Linked DNA regions of Homo sapiens: region 1 is linked to region 2. Evidence: promoter capture Hi-C in 16 types of primary human blood cells and fetal thymus (Javierre and others, 2016). All regions are on one chromosome and are shown on one strand. The core of a region is centred on a gene start or on the middle of the fragment in contact, and the rest is flanking DNA. Distances in the headings are between cores, read along the strand shown. Region 1 has its middle 3.1 kb from the start of GPR78. Region 2 holds the start of HMX1 (H6 family homeobox 1).

The links. Contacts are between HindIII fragments. The CHiCAGO score rates a contact against its expected background, and 5 or more counts as called.
Region 1: a contact is called between a fragment that was not itself captured here and the fragment with the promoter of HMX1 in region 2, in 1 of 17 cell types (M1 macrophages). The highest score is 5.2, in M1 macrophages.

Annotation. Positions count from the first base shown.
Region 1 is chr4:8,575,475-8,579,020 of GRCh38, reverse strand. No RefSeq gene overlaps it. Among named protein-coding and RNA genes, the nearest start is that of GPR78, 3.1 kb to the left of the region's middle. The HindIII fragment of the contact is 193 bases long and covers 1,278-1,470 here.
Region 2 is chr4:8,869,730-8,873,386 of GRCh38, reverse strand. It overlaps HMX1 (H6 family homeobox 1), which reads left to right and starts at 1,548. Exons shown (of 2, transcript NM_018942.3): 1 at 1,548-2,166. The coding sequence starts at 1,773. The HindIII fragment of the contact is 19,285 bases long and covers 1-3,657 here.

The DNA.
Region 1 (3,546 bases), core at 125-2,624, 290 kb after region 2:
GGCTTGAGAGCAGGGGCCTCCCCCAACCCCTCCAAGGCTTCTGAGCGACCATGTGCAGCTCTGGGGAGCGGTGGAGTCATCACGTGGCTTCACAGGGAGACTTTGGTCTAGCCACTCACAGCAGCCTCTGTCACCTCTCAACTACTCCAAAGGGAGACAATTCCACTTGCAGGGGAGCAGAGAGCATCTCTTCTGAGACATGAGCATGGGGAAGCTCCACCAGCCTGTATTATGAAAGGCAGGCCATTTGCTCATCTGCAAGGATGTACTGGACAACTGCATGAATGAGAAAATGTGTGTGGTGAGATCTCTGGACTCTGGTGAGGGCACCTTGATAGGTCTAGATCTGTTCTGTTTGCTGCTCTCCCCAAAGCCCCAGTGCTTCTGGCCTCAGATCTTGCCAGCCTGGCTGCCCCCCTTCCCTGGGTTGTAGGGGGTGGTTTTGAACCCTGTGGTCTTATCAGTATAATATCGTTTCATCTTCTTACACTCAAATCTCATTCCTGATGAAAAATTTAAATCCTCTGTAGGGTGAAATGCTGGACCTAATCCTTTTATCTTCCAAAAAGAAAAAGTATATGAAAATATTAAATATTTTCACCACTTCTTTAAAAAGTAAGGCAGTACTCCTAACTATGCAATCCTGCCCATTCTTGCTGAGATACGCATTGCAATGATAAAGTTCAGGATTAGTTCCCGAAGGCTCCTCCCCTGCCTAGTGATAGTTCATGGTTCCCCATTGCCTATGAAATTCCTTAGCAGCCCCTCCAAGTCTACCTACATCTGGTCTTAGCCACTCATGACGGGCCCTTTGCTGTTGCTGTCACTCACACACAGACACACACATGCACACACACGCACACAGGCACACATGCAAGCACACACACACTCACACCATCTAGCCACATCCCCTTTACTCATCACCCATGCACTTAACCCACATTACCTGACTTTGTCTGTGTTGCTGACTTGGCCTGAATGCCCTCTCTGTACTTTCCTTTTCATCTACTCCTCTAAGACAAAGCTCTGCTAAGCCTTCCCCTGTCAGCCAGGGAGAGTCACACCTCCTCAGAGCACCTTCCGAGACTTCCATCTCAGCCCCAACAGAAGTGCTGGGCTGAGATGAAGTGCAGAGGCTGAGATGCCACTGCTGCTTAATTAAAGTGAATGGCTTAATTGTTTCCTTATCTGAAAAATAGGGGCAGGAAGACCCATCTTCGAGGGGTGGGGTAAGAATTAAATAAGGTTACATTCAATAGGTGTAAAAGAAATAAGCTTAGTACTAAAGCAAGTTTAAATAAAATCAAATGAGCTCAGTTAACCATTGTTCTTTTCCCGCTTTTCTCATTTTTCCTCCCCAGTTGCATGTAACAAGCTGTCGGTGTATATCTGTGGAAATGAATTTGTCATCAGTGATAGCACTGCAATATGATGTAATTGATACAATTCACTTATCTCACAAAATAAGCTTGCTGTTTCTCCTGGGGGGCCAGGGTGGTTGTATTGATCAGATCTGACTTTGTCCACGTCTTCTCTCTGCTCAACAAAGTGAAGAAATCAAGCCTTGTGTGATCACCACAGTCTGCTGTATCCAGCACATTCTCTTGTACACGCTGGGTGCCCAGTACATCCTTGCAGATGAGTGAATGGCCTGCCTTTCCGTAATACAGGCTGGCGAAGCTTCCCTGCGCTCATGTCTCAGAAGAGATGCTCTCTGCTCCCCTGCAAGTGAAATCGTCTCCCCCTGGAGTCATTGAGAGGTGACAGGGGCCGCTGTGAGTGGCTACACCAAAGTCCCCTTGTGAAACCTCCTGACACCTCCACCACTCCCCAGAGCTGCACGCACATGGTCACTTAGAAGCCTTGGAGGGGCTGGGGGAGCCCACAGCTATCAAGCCCTGACTGCAGGAAAGCAACTGGAAGGAACAATCTGGCATGTTAACAAAAATGATTGCTCATAGACAGGCGGAAAAGAGAAAGGAGGAAGGTGGAAAGACAGGGAAATGAATGAAACTTCCAAAAACGGGAAGGCGGCAAGTGCGTGATTCTATTCCCCTACAGCATAGTCCTGTGCGGCCATTAAAAAGCAGGTGTCAGCCCAGCATGGTGGCTCATGCCTGGAATCCCAGCACTTTGGGAGCCCAAGGCATGTGGATCAGGAGTTTGAGACCAGCCTGACCAATATAGTGAAACCCCATCTGTACTAAAAATAAATAAATAAATAAATAAATAAATAAATAAATAAATAAAATACAAAAATTAGCCAGGCATGGTGGTGTGCACCTGTAATCCCAGCCACTCAGGAGGCTGACAGGAGAATCACTTGAATCCAGGAGATGGAGTTTGCAGTGAGCTGAGATCGTGCCACTGTACTCCAGCCTGGGCAACAGAGCGAGATTCCATCTAAGAAAGAAAAGAAAAGAGAAAAGACAAGACAAAAAGGAGAGAGGGAGAGAGGGAGGGAGGGAGGGAGGGAGAAAGAGCGAGAGAGAAAGAAAAGCAGATGTCCCAAGGAAAAATCCCACTGTGGATTGTTTAGCGGAAACCACTGAGAACACTGGGACCTCTGAACAAGGTATAGAAGCACCGGATCCTGATGCCAGGCCACCAGTCATGGTCACCAATGGCTGATGGAGCTAGGAGTGGTTGGTTGTTTTTCTGTGTCTTTACACTTTCCTGTCACTTTTACATTTTCTGTGAGAGCACGAAATGCTTTGAAAATCAGAAAATCACTCAGGAAGAAAAGCCTAGATCAAGCACTCCATCTGGAGGCCTCACCATCATGACTGGATTTAATTTTGTTTTCCTGCCTTGGAGCATCTTAGTTTTGTAAAATCCCAGTAGAAATTATCTTTCCAGGAGGAGGGAGGAAATGTGGAGGGAAGAGAGAGACAGAGAAAAGGAGAGAGAGAAAAGGGGAGGGAGGGAGAGAGGGAGGGAGGGAGGGAGAGAGGGAGGGAGGGAGGAAGGGAGAGAGGGGGAGAGAGGGAGAGAGAGGGAGAGAGAGGGAGAGAGAGGGAGAGAGAGGGAGAGAGAGGGGGAGGGAGAGAGAGGGGGAGGGAGGGAGGGAGGGAGAGGGAGGGGGAGAGAGAGAGAGAGAGAGAGATCATGAGCATGGAATTCCTTAGAATAGCAGAGAGGTAGGAAAGTATTACAGCTGGCAATATTATCCACACACTTAGAAATCACACATGCCCTCAGCAGCAACACATTCCCACTAATTCCTCAATGAAACACGGAAGGGTCCCTCAGTGCCATGGAGCTGGGACCTGTGACTACAGGGCAAATAAGATCTGTCCCTGTCTTCTGGGAGTTCACGGGCCGGGGGCCAAGGGCAGGCCAGAAACTGGGCATGACTCCTCCAGGTATGACTGAGGCTGAGGGAGGCTCCAGGCTCTGGGGGACCCTTGGGTGGCACCTGACCCAGCCTGGGTCTCCCCAGAGCAAGAGAATTTTGAAGGACAGCAGAGTTTGACAAGAAGGGATGAGTAAGAGATTATCAGATGGTAAGGAGGAGGAAGGGGTCAGCGGGAAGCAAAGTTCAAG
Region 2 (3,657 bases), core at 299-2,798:
TGGGCTAGGATGCCGGGGAAAAGGAGATGGGCTGAGCATCTTGTCCTAGAGTCCCTGGAAAAGTCCTCCCACTCGAGATCGCGGCAGCCACTGAGCACTAGAGGTCCTTCCTGGCAGCCGCCAGAAAGCGCACCCAGGACACGCTCCCAAGAGGCGCACCATTTTGTCTCTGCGAACCCAGGCCGCGAGGGCCCAGCTGGCTAGGCCTCAGCCGCTCCTGGAGCCCCACCGCCCTGCCAACCAGCCGGACTCCGGGGCATCAGTGAAGGAATTCCAGGCTTGCCGGAGCCACCTACCCTCTGGGGGAGTCTCTTCTCTCTTCTCCCGTCAGTTTTCTCCGCTGAAAAATGGGGGCGATGCTCCCTCCACCGTGCTTTTTTGGAAGAATTAAACAAAGCGGAAGCCCCAGGCCTGCGGTCACCTCCGGGAACGCGGGCGGTACTCGGGTGGAGAGGGGCCCGGGGCTGGCCCTGGGAGGATGGATGTATCTCTGCGAAATAACTCGCATCGGGTGAAGCCGGCTTAACCCGCGCGTCCGCGCAGTGACCTAATGTAGGTAAGTCTGAAGTCGACGCCGGAACGGAGACAGCTCCAGGGTGCGTTATGTTCCCGAACTTCCCGCTGCAGATATGGGAGGACCTCCCCACCCCTTTAGAGCGAAGAAACGGAGGCACAACGAGGGAAGGGGCCTGCCCCCAAGACCTTCGCCCAGGGCAGAGGCTGGGCCAAAAGCTCCCACCCCCTTCTAAGGCCCTGGCTTCCCCTGGAGCGGGCGGTGGGGGTGCTGGCGCGGTGAAGACCTGCTTGGTAACATCGAGCGGGCTGCCAGCGGAGCCCTGTGGTTGCACTTCCTTACATACTGGTACCGAGCCCGGGAACTGAAGAGTTCTACCGAACTACAGTTGGCATTGAAAGCATCTTTCCTTAAGTGCAAATATTAAGATATGCCACATTTCGCAGTCCTGTTTTGGCAGTGTTCCCATTTTTAAATTACACACAAAGTCTTAAATAAAAAAATGTGGCCCAGCCTCTTGCAGTTTCTTGGGAGCCCCGGGGTCTCCACGCCGCCCTCCACACACACACAGCCATTCAAACGCACACTCGTGCACACACCACGCGCGCGCACACACACAGTTACTCACGGTCGGTCCAACACCCTCCTCGCAGCGGGGTAATTACGGCTCTGGCCGGACGGTGATTGGCCAGCCCGTTCCTCATCGGGGCCCCACAGCCAATGGGTGGCCGCTCAGCCCAGGCCCCGCCCCCACGGAGCGGGTGGCGCGGGACGGGGGAACTGATCACGCGGGATCGGACCCGGCGCGACCCCCCGCCTGCGCCCGGGGCCGCCCGCCCTCGGCTGCGCCGCTGCCCGCGCGCTCAGGTCTGGGCAGCGTCTCCCGGCAGCGGCCGCGCTCGGGGCCGGCGCAGCGTCCTCGGGGCTCAGCGGGCCGCCCTCCCGGCCCAGCCCGCGACCCCCCGCCCCTGCTGGCCCCTCCCCCTCCCCGCCCCCAGTGAGGCCGCCCCGGCGGCGACCAGAACGGCGACCTGAAAGGCGAGCCAGGCGGCTGCCCGATCAGCTGTCGGCGCGCACTCGCTCCCGGCCCGGCCCAGCCCAGCCCGGCGCGGAGGCCGCCGCCTGCCCTGCGGGGCCCGACGCCAGCGGTCCGGGTAGCAGCTCCAGGGCCGGCCCGCGCGTGCGCCCGGGAGCCGCGCGCCACCATCCCCAGCGGGGACCGAGGAGCCCGGCCGAGCCCGAGAAGCCCGCGGCCGCGATGCCTGACGAGCTGACGGAGCCCGGGCGCGCCACGCCGGCCCGCGCCTCCTCCTTCCTCATCGAGAACCTGCTGGCGGCCGAGGCCAAGGGCGCAGGGCGCGCGACCCAGGGCGACGGCAGCCGGGAGGACGAGGAGGAGGACGACGACGACCCCGAAGACGAGGACGCCGAGCAGGCGCGGCGGCGACGGCTACAGCGGCGGCGACAGTTGCTCGCGGGCACCGGGCCCGGCGGGGAGGCGCGGGCCCGTGCGCTGCTCGGGCCGGGCGCGCTGGGCCTCGGTCCTCGGCCGCCCCCCGGTCCCGGGCCGCCCTTCGCTCTGGGCTGCGGAGGCGCAGCGCGCTGGTACCCACGGGCGCACGGTGGCTATGGAGGCGGCCTCAGTCCTGACAGTGAGTGAGGGCGCGGGGAGGGTGGGTCAGGCGGTGGGGCCCGACTTCCTCCCTGCGCATTTGCTGGGGGACTTCGGGCTCGTCGCCGCCCGTTCTGGGCCATCCTCTCCCTTCTGTGGAACGGCGTCTGGGCCTTGTGGGGCCCCCAGGAGCCCCTGGTTGGGCTGGTTTGGAGGCCCACCCTCTGGGGCAGGAGCTCCGCTAACGAGGAGGTTTTGCAGGCCATAGCTTCACCCATTGCCGGGCTCCTCCGGTCCCAGGGAGGCTGGGGACAGGGGACAACAGGAGGCCAAAGAAAAAAGAAAGGAGAGTGAAAGAGGATAGGGAAAGATACAGGAGAAGGCGAAAGAGGCTGAGAAAGAAAATGGGAGGATGGAGGAAGAAAGGAATGTGCTGCGGGAGAGAGAATGGGGTGGGGGGAGGGGAAGATGCAGGAAAAAGAAACCCAAGAGTGATCCGAGAGAGAAAAGAGGAGGAAGAGATGGAGGGAAAGGGAGACAAAGTAGCATCAGACGTGGAAAAATAAAAGGGGGCATTGAGCAGAGGGTGCAGTGTTGTGGGGGTGGGGCCGGGGAGGGGAGCCATCTAACATGGCAGCTGTGCCCCCCCAGAGTCCTGTTTCCTCTGTGCCCGCTGCAGACAGCCTGGGGCAGGGGCCTGGGTCTCCCTCTTGGTCCTTGAGGGGCATGGGCTGTGCCAGGCAAGAAGGGAGCCTGTTCTGAGGCCCCCAGTCCAACCCCTCTCTCTTCTTTTTCTGCCCCTCCCCCTCCTTGCCTTTGTTCCCTGCTGAGGGCTTGAGACTGGGGCTGGGGGTTCTCAACCCCAGAACCCCTTTGCCCCCTTGCTTGGGTATCTGACCCCTTAGTTCTGCTTCCCCTCCCCAGGGTTCCAGGGTCGCTGCCTCCCTTTTGTACCTGCCCTTTAGGAAGACCCCTGGGAGGAAGGCCAGGAAAGCCAGTCCAACCCCCCAAGCCCTGGCTTAGCCAGCCCCCCACCCCCAACACAGCCTTTGGACCTTGAGGCCAGCTGAGGACGTGGGCCCTCTGCAGGCTCCGGCTCTGGGATCCATGCTGTCCTCTGTATGAATATTAGTGTGTGCTGGGGAGTAAGTGGCCTACGACCCTCACTCACTTGTTAGATAACCCTTTCCATGTCGTGGAGTGATCCTTTGCAAAAGCCCCCACATCTCGGCACCCACACTCAGGAAGTCTAGGCCCCCACCCCCTTCACGTAGACTTGAGCAGGGCTTCCGTGGTTTCCCAGAAATCGAGCGACTCTGTCTAGTGCCCTTCTGGGGGAGACTATGGAAAGGGTTTCTCAGGGTGAAATTTGTTCTCCACTCATCCCTGGGGTGCATCCCCTCCTGCAGCCCAGGTGGCACCCCTGCAGAGGCGGCTCCCCCTTATTTCGTGCCATGCGGGTTAGGGTCCCACTTCCTCACTGGAGCTGGCAAGTCAGCCTAGTGCCTTGTGGCAGCACATGGGCCTCTGT